Regions from separate parts of the Homo sapiens genome. Here all the other regions are linked to region 2. The links are contacts of gene promoters, found by promoter capture Hi-C in blood cells and fetal thymus (Javierre and others, 2016). All regions are on one chromosome and are shown on one strand. Each heading gives the region's core, a stretch centred on a gene start or on the middle of the fragment in contact. The rest is flanking DNA. Distances are from core to core; before and after follow the strand shown. Region 1 has its middle 8.4 kb from the start of ZNF749. Region 2 holds the start of ZNF155 (zinc finger protein 155). Region 3 overlaps ZNF749 (zinc finger protein 749). Region 4 overlaps ZIK1 (zinc finger protein interacting with K protein 1).

Evidence for each region. The method cuts DNA at HindIII sites, captures the fragments that hold promoters and counts their contacts. A CHiCAGO score of 5 or more calls a contact.
Region 1: a contact is called between a fragment that was not itself captured here and the fragment with the promoter of ZNF155 in region 2, in 1 of 17 cell types (non-activated CD4 T cells). The highest score is 10.8, in non-activated CD4 T cells.
Region 3: a contact is called between a fragment that was not itself captured here and the fragment with the promoter of ZNF155 in region 2, in 1 of 17 cell types (non-activated CD4 T cells). The highest score is 7.8, in non-activated CD4 T cells.
Region 4: a contact is called between a fragment that was not itself captured here and the fragment with the promoter of ZNF155 in region 2, in 1 of 17 cell types (non-activated CD4 T cells). The highest score is 7.4, in non-activated CD4 T cells.

The regions. Positions count from the first base shown.
Region 1 is chr19:57,425,472-57,428,298 of GRCh38, reverse strand. No RefSeq gene overlaps it. Among named protein-coding and RNA genes, the nearest start is that of ZNF749, 8.4 kb to the left of the region's middle. The HindIII fragment of the contact is 2,068 bases long and covers 494-2,561 here.
Region 2 is chr19:43,982,844-43,985,543 of GRCh38, reverse strand. It overlaps ZNF155 (zinc finger protein 155), which reads right to left and starts at 1,356. Exons shown (of 5, transcript NM_198089.3): 1 at 1,299-1,356. RefSeq lists a silencer at 1,460-1,659. The HindIII fragment of the contact is 8,717 bases long and covers 1-2,700 here.
Region 3 is chr19:57,445,766-57,448,465 of GRCh38, reverse strand. It overlaps ZNF749 (zinc finger protein 749), which reads right to left. Exons shown (of 3, transcript NM_001023561.4): 3 at 1,365-2,700. Among named protein-coding and RNA genes, the nearest start is that of VN1R1, 10 kb to the left of the region's middle. The HindIII fragment of the contact is 196 bases long and covers 1,331-1,526 here.
Region 4 is chr19:57,593,022-57,595,721 of GRCh38, reverse strand. ZIK1 (zinc finger protein interacting with K protein 1) reads right to left here. Exons shown (of 4, transcript NM_001010879.4): 4 at 1,832-2,700. Among named protein-coding and RNA genes, the nearest start is that of ZNF530, 5.5 kb to the left of the region's middle. The HindIII fragment of the contact is 4,262 bases long and covers 1-2,700 here.

The sequences.
Region 1 (2,827 bases), core at 278-2,777, about 13 Mb before region 2:
GGGATATAACATACCTGATTTTTAAATTCAGGACACATAGCTCCTGAGGCAGGATCTAGACACCAGCTATTCCTATGCAATGCTGGAGAATATGGGACATCCATATGTACAGATACCCACCTCATACAGCTGCAACATGCTCTGACAACTGTCAAACCAACAACCCTCAAGCTGACTGTAGAACTACCAATAATCAAATTCACGGCGCGATTTTGGATAGAAGTCCGTCACTTTCCCAGGAACTCCCGAAGCAATGCAAATTGGGCCTGATGTGGATTGAAAGCTATTTTGTCTTCTTATTTCTTCAAGAGCACAAAAAGTTGAAGGCCCCAAAAACCATTCACTTTTTCATTCTGGCAAAGCCTAATTTTGTTCTCAACCCGCAGCACACAGTGAAGAGAACCCCAAGAGTAAATGTAGCTTAAACAATATGACCTTTATCATCAGAAGAAAACAGCAATGCTTAGGTGGAAATTGACTGGGTTGGGAAGCTTGGAAGGTAGAAAATTTATCATCAACATTATCAGTATCAGACAACTAATAATACCTCTGAAAAAAGGAAATCTCTACAAGCTGCCAGCTGAAGTTGGCGTGTGTTCTCTGTCCAAAGCTGGGTGATGTCCACACCCAAACCAGTCAGGGGACTGGGAATGAGGCCCCCAAAGGGAACAAATGACTGAATATTCCAGATAAAGGTAGAGAACACAGCAATCTATGCACCACCCCCCCACCCCCCATTTTTTAAAAACATTTAACCAGAAGTCCAGACCTTATCACTCTCTAAGTAATTTAAGGTGACTAAGGTGATGCACATTGTGGCACCATGACAGCTAATAGCAGGAGTCTTCTGTAATGCACACTTTCAGCAACTTAACTCTGGAAAGGCCCCAGGCAGGGTCAGAAAGTGCAACATCATTCACAAAAATTTACCATATATCTGACAATTACAACAAATCTCCCTTGCGTGGATGTTTGGATGTGAGATTCAATTTCAGGCTGAGATCTCCCTCAACAAGCTAACACAGGGTCATCCAAGGGAAAGAATACAGTCATGGGTTCTTAGTTTGTTTCTAGCTGGGCCAGTAAAGCTCCTTTCTCATCTCATTCCTCTTGTCCACCTACCACTAGAGACAGAAACAAAACCATGGCTTCAGGCTAAAAGCCTAAAACAAAACAGAGCAACAAAAAAATAGGGTGAGTAAGACAAGCTCGATAGAGCTTTGCTGTTTTTGACCTGTTGACAAAGGAAAAAAAGTATATTGCCTGCATTCCTAAGGACTTTCTCCAGGATGAACTTACTCTTGCTCAGTGAAGTTAGGCTGAATACTTTCTAACATTTGCTGCACTCATAATATTCTGCTGGTTGTATAGTAATAACATACAAAGGTGTTTTTCTGATGTCAGGACATGTCACAATGATAATCATAAAATGTAGACCACTTTGCTACTTACAGCTTGAAACCTAAGGACATAGGCAGGGCTGCAAGAGTTATGAGGGAACCCAAGATAACAGCAAGCTGGAGCTTAGGGGGCAGCTTGTGTGTGCCATGTAAATTGGGGTTAGCTAGGTTTTCAGGGACCCCTGTGCATTGACCAATGGAATAATTTTACAAGCTCCTGGGCACAGAAGCTGTCCCTAGATATCTGATTCCTGATCCTGGGGTGATTGGGTCTTACATATTGTGGCCCAGAGTTTGAGAGCCTGATAAGGAAAATGGTTGGGAGTGTGGACTTAATCTGCTGCTCCAAAATTGTAACTGACAAGCCTCTACCAAGGGCCTTAATGCTAGGCAAAAACATTATTCTTTTGATGTTAAAAAAAAAAAACTGGATATCCACACGCAAAAGAATTAAGTTGCTAAAATGAACTCAAATGCATCAAAGACTTATAAAACAGATATATTAGACTCCATTTAAATTCAAAATTCCTGTGTAAAAAAGGACATAATGGACAGAGTGAAAAGGAAAAAGACTCAATGGGAGAAAGTATTTGAAAACCACATATCTGAGAAGGAATATCTAGAATATGAGGGGTCTTCAAAAGTTTCATGAAAAATGAGAAAAAAATGTATATTATGAAAAAATTGGCCAGGGGTGGTGGCTTAAGCCTGTAATCACAGCACTTTGTGAGGCCCAGGCAGGTGGATCACCTGAGGTCAGGAGTTCGAGAGCAGCCTGGCCAACAGAGTGAAAACCCATCTCTACTAAAAATACAAAAATTAGCTGGGCGTGATTGTGGGCACCTGTAATCCCAGCTACTCAAGAGGCTGAGGCAGGAGAATTGCTTGAACCCAGGAGGCGGAGGTTGCAATGAGCCGAGATCATGCCACTGCACTCCAACCTAGCGTTAGTGAGACTCTGTCAAAAAAAAAAAAAAAAATTATGTATGGATTTCAATTTTTTACACCAAAGTGAATTTGTAATAACTTGTTCTAACAAGTATGAACAGGATCTAGTTTGAGGCACTAAGAACGGCATCAGTTTGAAAACACCTTCTATCAGAGGAATGTGAATTCAGCTAAGGTTGAAGAAAGAACAAATATCAAATATATAGTAAAGCTTGGCTCTAAAAATGGTAAAACCGGCCGGGTGCGGTGGCTCGCGCCTGTAATCCCAGCACTTTGGGAGGCCGAGTTTGGGCGGATCACAAGGTCAGGAGTTCAAGACCATTCTGACCAATATGGTGAAACCCCATCACTACTAAAAATACAAAAATTAGCCGGGCGTGGTGGCGCATGCCTGTAATCCCAGCTACACAGGAGGCTGAAGCAGAAGAATCGCTTGAACCCAGGAAACGGAGGTTGCAGTGAGCTGAGATCGCGCCACT
Region 2 (2,700 bases), core at 107-2,606:
AAAAAAAAAAGAAAAAGAGCAATACCTTTCCACAGAGCCATGGTGTGGCGTAAATGTATTTATTTCCATAAAGCCCTTAGAATTAAGTTACCAATTAAGGTTTAATTATTATCAACACCCATGCCCAAGGACACATCCTATACACTCTTGGTTGAGGTGAACATCTCTGTAAAAGAAAAAACCGGCCCGGCGCGGTGGCTCACACCTGTAATTCCAGCACTTTGGGAGGCCGAGGCAGGCGGATCACTTAGGACCACAGGTTCGAGACCAGCCTGGCCAACATGGTGAAACCCCGTCTCTACTAAAAATACAAAAATTAGCCGGGCATGGTGACGCATGCCTGTAATCCCAGCTACTCCGGAGCTGAGGACAGAGAATCGCTTGAACCCAGGAGGCGGAGGTTGCAGTGAGCCAAGATCGCGCCACTGCTGCACTCCAGCCTGGGAGACAGAGCAAACCTCATTCTCAAATAATAACAATAATAAAAACAGACTAACAAAATAAATAACTTTTTTTTAAAAAGAGAAAAGCCAAAGACCACTCGTGTAGACAGCTTTGTCCTCAGTAGCCAAGTCCCTCCCTGCAGCTCTTTTAGAAAAGTCAGGCTGGGGAAGGAGAAAGCTGTCAAACACTCTGCGTCGCCGTCCCGGATACAAGTTAAATGCTCCTCTCCCTTCGTGAAACGTGGATGCAACCCACGCCTTCCTAAAAAGAGGTCAGAGGCGTCCGGGATCATCCAGAGCCCTGCCGGGCTCCAAGAGAAGGGCCGGAGCAGCTGGAGCTCTGACCCCACCCGGGCACCTGACCACTTCGCGGGAAATTAACAGGACACCAAGTGACAGGAGCTGTTAAGTCTTTGTTTTATACCACAACTTTCAACTCCTAAAACAATTCTATCAGGATGGTCCTGAAATCCTCATTTAAAAAACGGCAATGGGAGGTACAGGGAGATTAAGTAACACCCCACGTTATATCGCGAGAAAGAGGTCGCACACTTAAGAGTGGAGGGAGGCGGACTGAACGAGGTCAAACACCTGGAAAACCCTCTAAACAGGCACACAAGACTAGACAGAGTTCTTCCCCGCCCCCCCCGAACCCCCGACGACTCCTCCGGTGGACCTGAGTACAGCCCCCAACGCCAGAAGGCTCCATCGACGGCAACGAAACTTCCCTCCCACCCCTCGCATCTCCAAACCTCAGGTCTTCTCCAGGGCTTCTTACCCCCTTAGTTGACCCCCCAGGTCGTTAGGCGCCCCTAATAACTGGTTCACTTTCGCAAAGACCCGCAAGACACATACTTGGCTCAAACCACCTTGTTAAGTAGCAGTGTCCTGCTCGGAGACCGGAAGTGTCGATGATGCCACAGGCGTCTGGACTACACTTCCCAGAATCCCCCGAATCCGCCTGCCTGAGCCAAAGTTCCCACGACTCCACAGAGCAAATGGACTCCACTTCCCAGAATTCACAGGTCCTCCTGCCTGGGCCAAAATTCCCACGCCTCCCAAGCTACTCGCGAAACGCCTGCGGGAGCCAAATTTCCTGCGCATCGACCGGGCAATTAGACTCCCGCAGGCGTTTCGCTGGTATCTTGGGAAATGGAGTCCATTTGCTCTGTGGAGGCGTGAGAATTTTGGCTCAGGCAGGTGGACCTGTGAATTCTGGCCTATCAACCTATATTTTTATTTTAAAAAAATGGAGTCTCATGTTCTATATCAATTTTTCTAAACTAAAAAAGAATACTTTTCATGGTTTTCTTTAGATAAAGTGACTGTGCCAACCACAGTATGAGGAACACTTCTCTGAAAATTGAGTGACTGCTATTTCTAAACCAGTTACAGCTGTATCCTTGCTCTGTTCTGCCCTCCCAAGAGATAAAAATTTATTGACACGCTCAATCGTAGTAGGCAGGAAACTGTGCCTAATATATTAGGGTATATCTGGCATCAAAGGCCCTTTCTGTCCCCCAGGTCCTTGCACTCTGGGCCTGTGATGGGAGGAGAAGCTGCCATAATCTGTGAAATGCCTTTGGGGTCATTCTTCCATTGTCTTGGACAATAGGTCCTGGCTTCAGTTGACATGGCCAATCCATACTAAATTCATGAATTAGTTAGTTGCTTAACCATACCCTTGTATTCTTCAGGTTTCCTGTTTTTTTTTTTTTCCAAAGTAGATAGGCTGTAAACTTTTAAAAATTTTAGTTCTGTTTCCCTTTTAATTAATAATTATTTCAGTCATTCCTCACTTCGTGCCTTTCACTACGGGTAGTCAAGATGATTCAAGCAACTTCAACACTTTGATTAGAAATTAATTCAGATAAACAATTATATCATTCACAAATTCTACCTTCCATAAAACACTAGCACCTGAATATAATTCAGCCAAATTCTTTGTCCCTTTATAACAAGAAGCTCTCTTCTCTTCCAATAACATGTTCAACATTTCTGACTGAGGTCTTCAGAATGGCCTTTACTGTCCATATTTCTACCAACATTCTGATCATGACTACCTAGGTATGCTCTAACAAGATTGATGTTTTCTCTACAGTTCTTATTCTCTATTTCTGAGCGCTAACCAGAATTGTCCTTATCAGTCCATTCATGGCAATGTAGGCTTTTCCTAGCATACATGTAAAAACTCTTCTAGACTCTATCCATTACATAGTTCCAAAGACTGCTACATTTTTAGGTATTTGTTGCAGCA
Region 3 (2,700 bases), core at 179-2,678, about 13 Mb before region 2:
TGACAGAGCAAGACTCCGTCTCAAAATAATAATAATAATTATTATTATTATAATTATTATTATTAACGGGAAGCACCATTTCCACTTCTGGGTATATGTCCAAGAAGAATTTAAAGCAGGGCCTCAGGAGGTATTTGTATATTCATGCTCATAGTGGCATTAACAAGAACAGAAGAGTGGAAGCAACCCAAATGTACACTGAAGAAAGAATACAGGAAAAGTGGCATATACATATACCACAGTCATATGCCACACATTTCTGTCTACCATGGACCACATGTATAACAGTAATCCCGTATTATAACAGAGCTAAACAACTCCTATCACCTAGTGCCACCACAGCCACTGTAACTCAATCCCATTACTCAAGTGTGTGTGGTGACACTGGTGTAAACAAACCTACTGGTCTGCCAGTCATATAAAGAGCACAGGCCGGGCGCTGTGGCTCATGCCTGTAATCCCAGCACTTTGGGAGGCCGAGATGGGCGGATCATGAGGTCAGGAGTTGGAGACCAGCCTGGCCAACATAGTGAAACCCCATCTCTACTAAAAATACAAAAAATTAGCCGGGCATGCTGGTGGGCACCTGTAATCCTAGCTACTCGGGAGGCTGAGGCAGGAGAATCGCTTGTACCCGGGAGGCGGAGGTTGCAGTGAGCCAAGATCACACCACTACACACCAGCCCAGGCAACAGTGCAAGACTCTGTCTCAAAAAAAAAATAAAGCCAGGCGCGGTGGCTCATGCCTGTCATCCCAGCACTCTGGGAGGCTGAGGCGGGCGAATCATGAGGTCAGGAGTTCGAGACCAGCCTGGCCAACATAGTGAAACGCCATCTCTACTAAAAATACAAAAAATTAGCTGAGCGTGGTGGCAGGCACCTGTAATCCTAGCTACTCGGGAGGCTGAAGCAGGAGAATCACTTGAACCCAGGAGGCAGAGGTTGCAGTGAGCCGAGATTGTGCCACTGCACTCCAGCCTGGCAACAGTGCGAGACTCTGTCTCAAAAAAAAAAAAAAAAAAAAAGTGTGAGGCAAGGCTTCAGAAAATATTCCAGAATATTGTTATCATAGGAGATAACAACTCCCTGTTATTGAGCCTGAAAACCTTCTAGTGGGACAAGATGTGGAGGCAAAAGACAGTGATATTAATGATCCTCACCCTCTGTAGGCCTTGACTAATGTGTGTGTCTGTGTCTTCATTTTTAACTTATTTTTTACGAAGTTAAAAAATTAAATAGAAAAAGTTTATAGAATATAAAGGAGTACTTCTATACAGGCTGTATAATGTGTTTGTGTTTTAAGCTATTATTACAAAAGAGTCAAAAAGCTTTTTAAAATTTTAAAAGTTCATGAAGTAAAAACGTTACAGTAGACTAAGGTTAATTTATTACTAAAGAAAAAATTAATTTAGAGTAGCCTAAGTGTACAATGTTTATAACATCTACAATAGGGTACAGTAATGTCCTAGAGCTTCACATTCACTCACAACTCACTCCCTGACTCAACCAGAGGGGTCCCGCAAGCTTCGTTCATGTTAGTGCCCTATAAAGTTTTTACCATTTTTCATACATTTTTACAGTACCTTTTGGAAACTTAGATATGTTTAGATACACATTTACTTATCATTGTGTTTCAATTACCTACAATATTCAATACTGTAACATGCTGTTAAGGTTTATATCTGAGGCGCAATGGACCATATCATATAGCCTAGGTGCGTAATAGGCTGTGCCCTTCAGGTTTGTGTAAGTACACTCTTTGTTCACACAATGACAAAATCACCTTAAGATGATTACTCAGAACACAGTCCTCTTGTTAGGCGACACATGACTACAATGGGATTTTATTCGGCCTTTAAAAAAGATGAAAATCATAAGCTATGCTACAACATGGATAAACCTTGAAGACATTTAGGGAAATAAGCCTCAAAATAAGTCACAAAAGACTAAAACTTAAGTTTCCTCATATGAGATATTTATAGTAAAATTCATACAGTAGTATTGTCAGGGGCTGGTTGGCGTAGGGAATGAGGAAGAGGAGTAGTTTAAAGCAGCGGTCCCCAACCTCTTTGGCACCAGGGACTGGTTTCATGGAAGCCAATTTTTCCACGCATCAGGGACAGAGGAGGGGGCAGACAGTTTCAGAATAAAACTGTCCCACCTCAGATCATCAGGTATTAGTTAGATTCTCATAAGGAGCACACAACCTAGATCCCTCACAGGCACAGTTCACAATAGGGCTCAGGCTGCTATGAGAATCTAATGCTGCTCATCTGACAGGAGGTGAAGCTCAGGTAGTGATGCTGGCCCGGTTCCTAACAGGCCACAGACTGGTACCAGTTTGCAGCCTGGGGGTTGTGGACCCCTGGTTTAAAGGGTATAATGTTTTAGTTTCATTAAGTTGAAAAAACTTCTGGATATTAATTGACAACAATGCGAATGACTTAACACTACTGAACAGTACAGTTAAATATGGGTTAAGATGGTAGATTTTAAGTTACCTGTAATTTGCCACAATTATAATTTTTTTCTTTTTGAGACAGAGTCTCGCCCTGTCACCCAGGCTGGAGTGCAATGGAACAATCTCAGTTCACTGCAACCTCCGCCTCCCAGGTTCAAGTGATGCTCCCTGCCTCAGTCCCCTGAATAGCTGGGATTACAGGCACCTGCCACCATGCCCAGCTAATTTTTGTATTTTTA
Region 4 (2,700 bases), core at 164-2,663, about 14 Mb before region 2:
AATGACATCAGAGAGACACAAAACAAAAACACGCACCATTCCAGAATGTGGCAAATTCTGGACAAATGTCTCATCAACTTCAAGAATAATAATAAAAAGTGGTAGCTGTGTATTATTATAGACTCACCAGATGAAACTACTAATAGCCATATAGATTCATTTTGGATCTGATTGCAATGAATTTGTCTTAAAAATCAATTTTGGAGACAATTCGAGGTGACTGAGCACTGATGATATATTTTATGATGCCTTAAATAATGATTGATAAAGTTATAGGAATTATGAAAGAGCTCTTATGCTTGAAAATGCATTCTGAAGAGGTGCAGCATTGAATGACAAGATGTGGGAATTGTAAGTAAAATAATTATGTGTGAAAAGAGTTGAAACAAGAATGGCTACTAAATGATAAGTAATAATGGAAGATTTAGAAAGGTTTCATAGTGCATCTGAACACAGTCCTTTCCATTTGTGTATATACTTGAAAATATCCATTAGAAGAGGAAAAATAAGTTTTTGTACCCATTACTTGTTAAGAGGGATGGACTAAAAAGGGCAGGTGGAAACTTATGGTTTCGAGTATATATTAAAATAGAAATTGTATACTTTAAATATGCAGAATTTAAGACAACTAGATTTCACTTAAGCCACTTTTAAAAACACAAGTAATAAATACTCAAAAGTCAATTCTTAATCATTTTACTGTTTTACTCTTATATATACATTGTTCTATAGTGAGCAGGTGTATGAAAATCTATCCCAAAGGCCAACGAAGCTGAAAGGCCAAAGAAGGAGGAAGAGGCCAAATTGTTTTCAGAAACATTTCATAGGGACTCATGAACAGAAGTGATGTCTTGTGCAGCTGTGAGACAATGGATCCCTGTATCTGCCCTCCAGAAGGCAGTTTCCTTTACATCCTTTATAGGACCCTTTTTGTAGTGGTCAACAAGGCTGGAGTTTTTTGTTTGTTTGTTTTTCTAGACGGAGTCTTGCTCTGTTGCCAGGCTGGAGTGCAATGGCGTGATCTCGGCTCACTGCAACCTCCACCTCCTGGATTCAAGTGATTCTCCTGCCTCAGCCTCCCAAGTAGCTGGGATTACAGGCACCCGTAAGCCACCACAACCGGCTAATTTTTCTATTTTTAGTAGAGATGGGGTTTCACCATGTTAGCCAGGATGGTCTCCATCTCCTGACCTCGTGATCTGCCCACCTTGGCCTCCCAAAGTGTTGGGATTACAGGCAAGAGCCAACACGCCCGGCCTGGAGTTTTTAGGGTAAAACGTGCAGCTCTTCACGTCTTCAGACTTTCTTGCCAAGACTCATGACCATTGGGGGAGAGAAGCATTTTGATGATATCTATGCTACTGCTTCAGAACATAGGTGACCATGACAGCTTCACTTCAAGATGGCATCAGTCTTGCCACACCACAGGCTGTATGGTTCCTACATACATGATCTTCAGGTTATCTGCGGCTACTGTATTGGCATGGTGAAAGTAGAATACAGTGGTGTGACGCTACCCACTTCTTCTCAATTCATGTTCAGTGACATTATTTTGACACCTTGTAATTGGCCATGGTGGGAGTATTTTACCAGGGAAATTGGCAAATATTAAAAACCAGGGCTTATTTGTTTCATTGAATGGTTAGACCTAAGAAAGTGATGGAGAATTTGTCAATGAAGGTAGTGTTTCAGGTATATAGTGTCTGTAGTTGTTACACTGTGAATAGACCAAAAAACTGAGAAATTATTTTCCCAGTATTTGAAAACAATTTTATCATTTAGCAAATAAGTGCATCACATTACTGAAGAATGAGTAAAGTTTCAACATAAGTCTTTGTTATACGTCTATTTATTAATGAAAAAGTATCACCAACATCCATTTAAAAATAAGCAAAAGACATTAATAAACATTCTTCCAAAGAGGATATACAGGTGGCAACTAGATACAAGATGTTCAAATGTTCAATACCATAAAATACCAGAAAAATGCAATAAAATCACAGACAGATGCTATTATACAGCTATTAAAACAACTAAAATTAAAAAGACTAACCATACCAAGTATGGCAAGAATGTAGAGAAATAAGAAGGTTCACATACTGTTGATGAGAATGCAAATGGTACAGTTAGGTTATAGTCTGGCCTTGTCTTTAAAAGTGACGCATTCACGTACACTGTACTACTGACACAGGAGAAATAAAGCATTTCTGCATATTAAGAGTTATATGCCTATGTTCATAGTAGCATTATTTGCAACAGCCCAAAACTGGAAAGCATCCAACTGTTTATCCAAATTGTGACATATCCACAGACTATTTCTCAGCAATACAAATGAACTATTCACATAAGCAATATTGATAAATCTTAAAAGTAATTGTGCATCAGCTGGTGTGGTGGCTTACGCCTGTAATCCCAGCACTTCGGGAGGCTGAGGCGGGCGGATCACGAGGTCAAGAGATCAAGACCATCCTGGCAAACATGGTAAAACCACATCTCTACTAAAAATACAAAAATTAGTTGGGCGTGGTAGTGCATGCCTGTAGTCCTAGCTTCTCAGGAGGCTGAGGCAGGAGAATCGCTGGAACCCAGGAGGAGGTTGGAGTGAGCCAAGATCATGCCACTGCACTCCAGCCTGGTGACAGACTGAGACTCCATCTCAAAAAAAAAAAAAAAATTGTGCATCATCAGGAAAAATGGAGT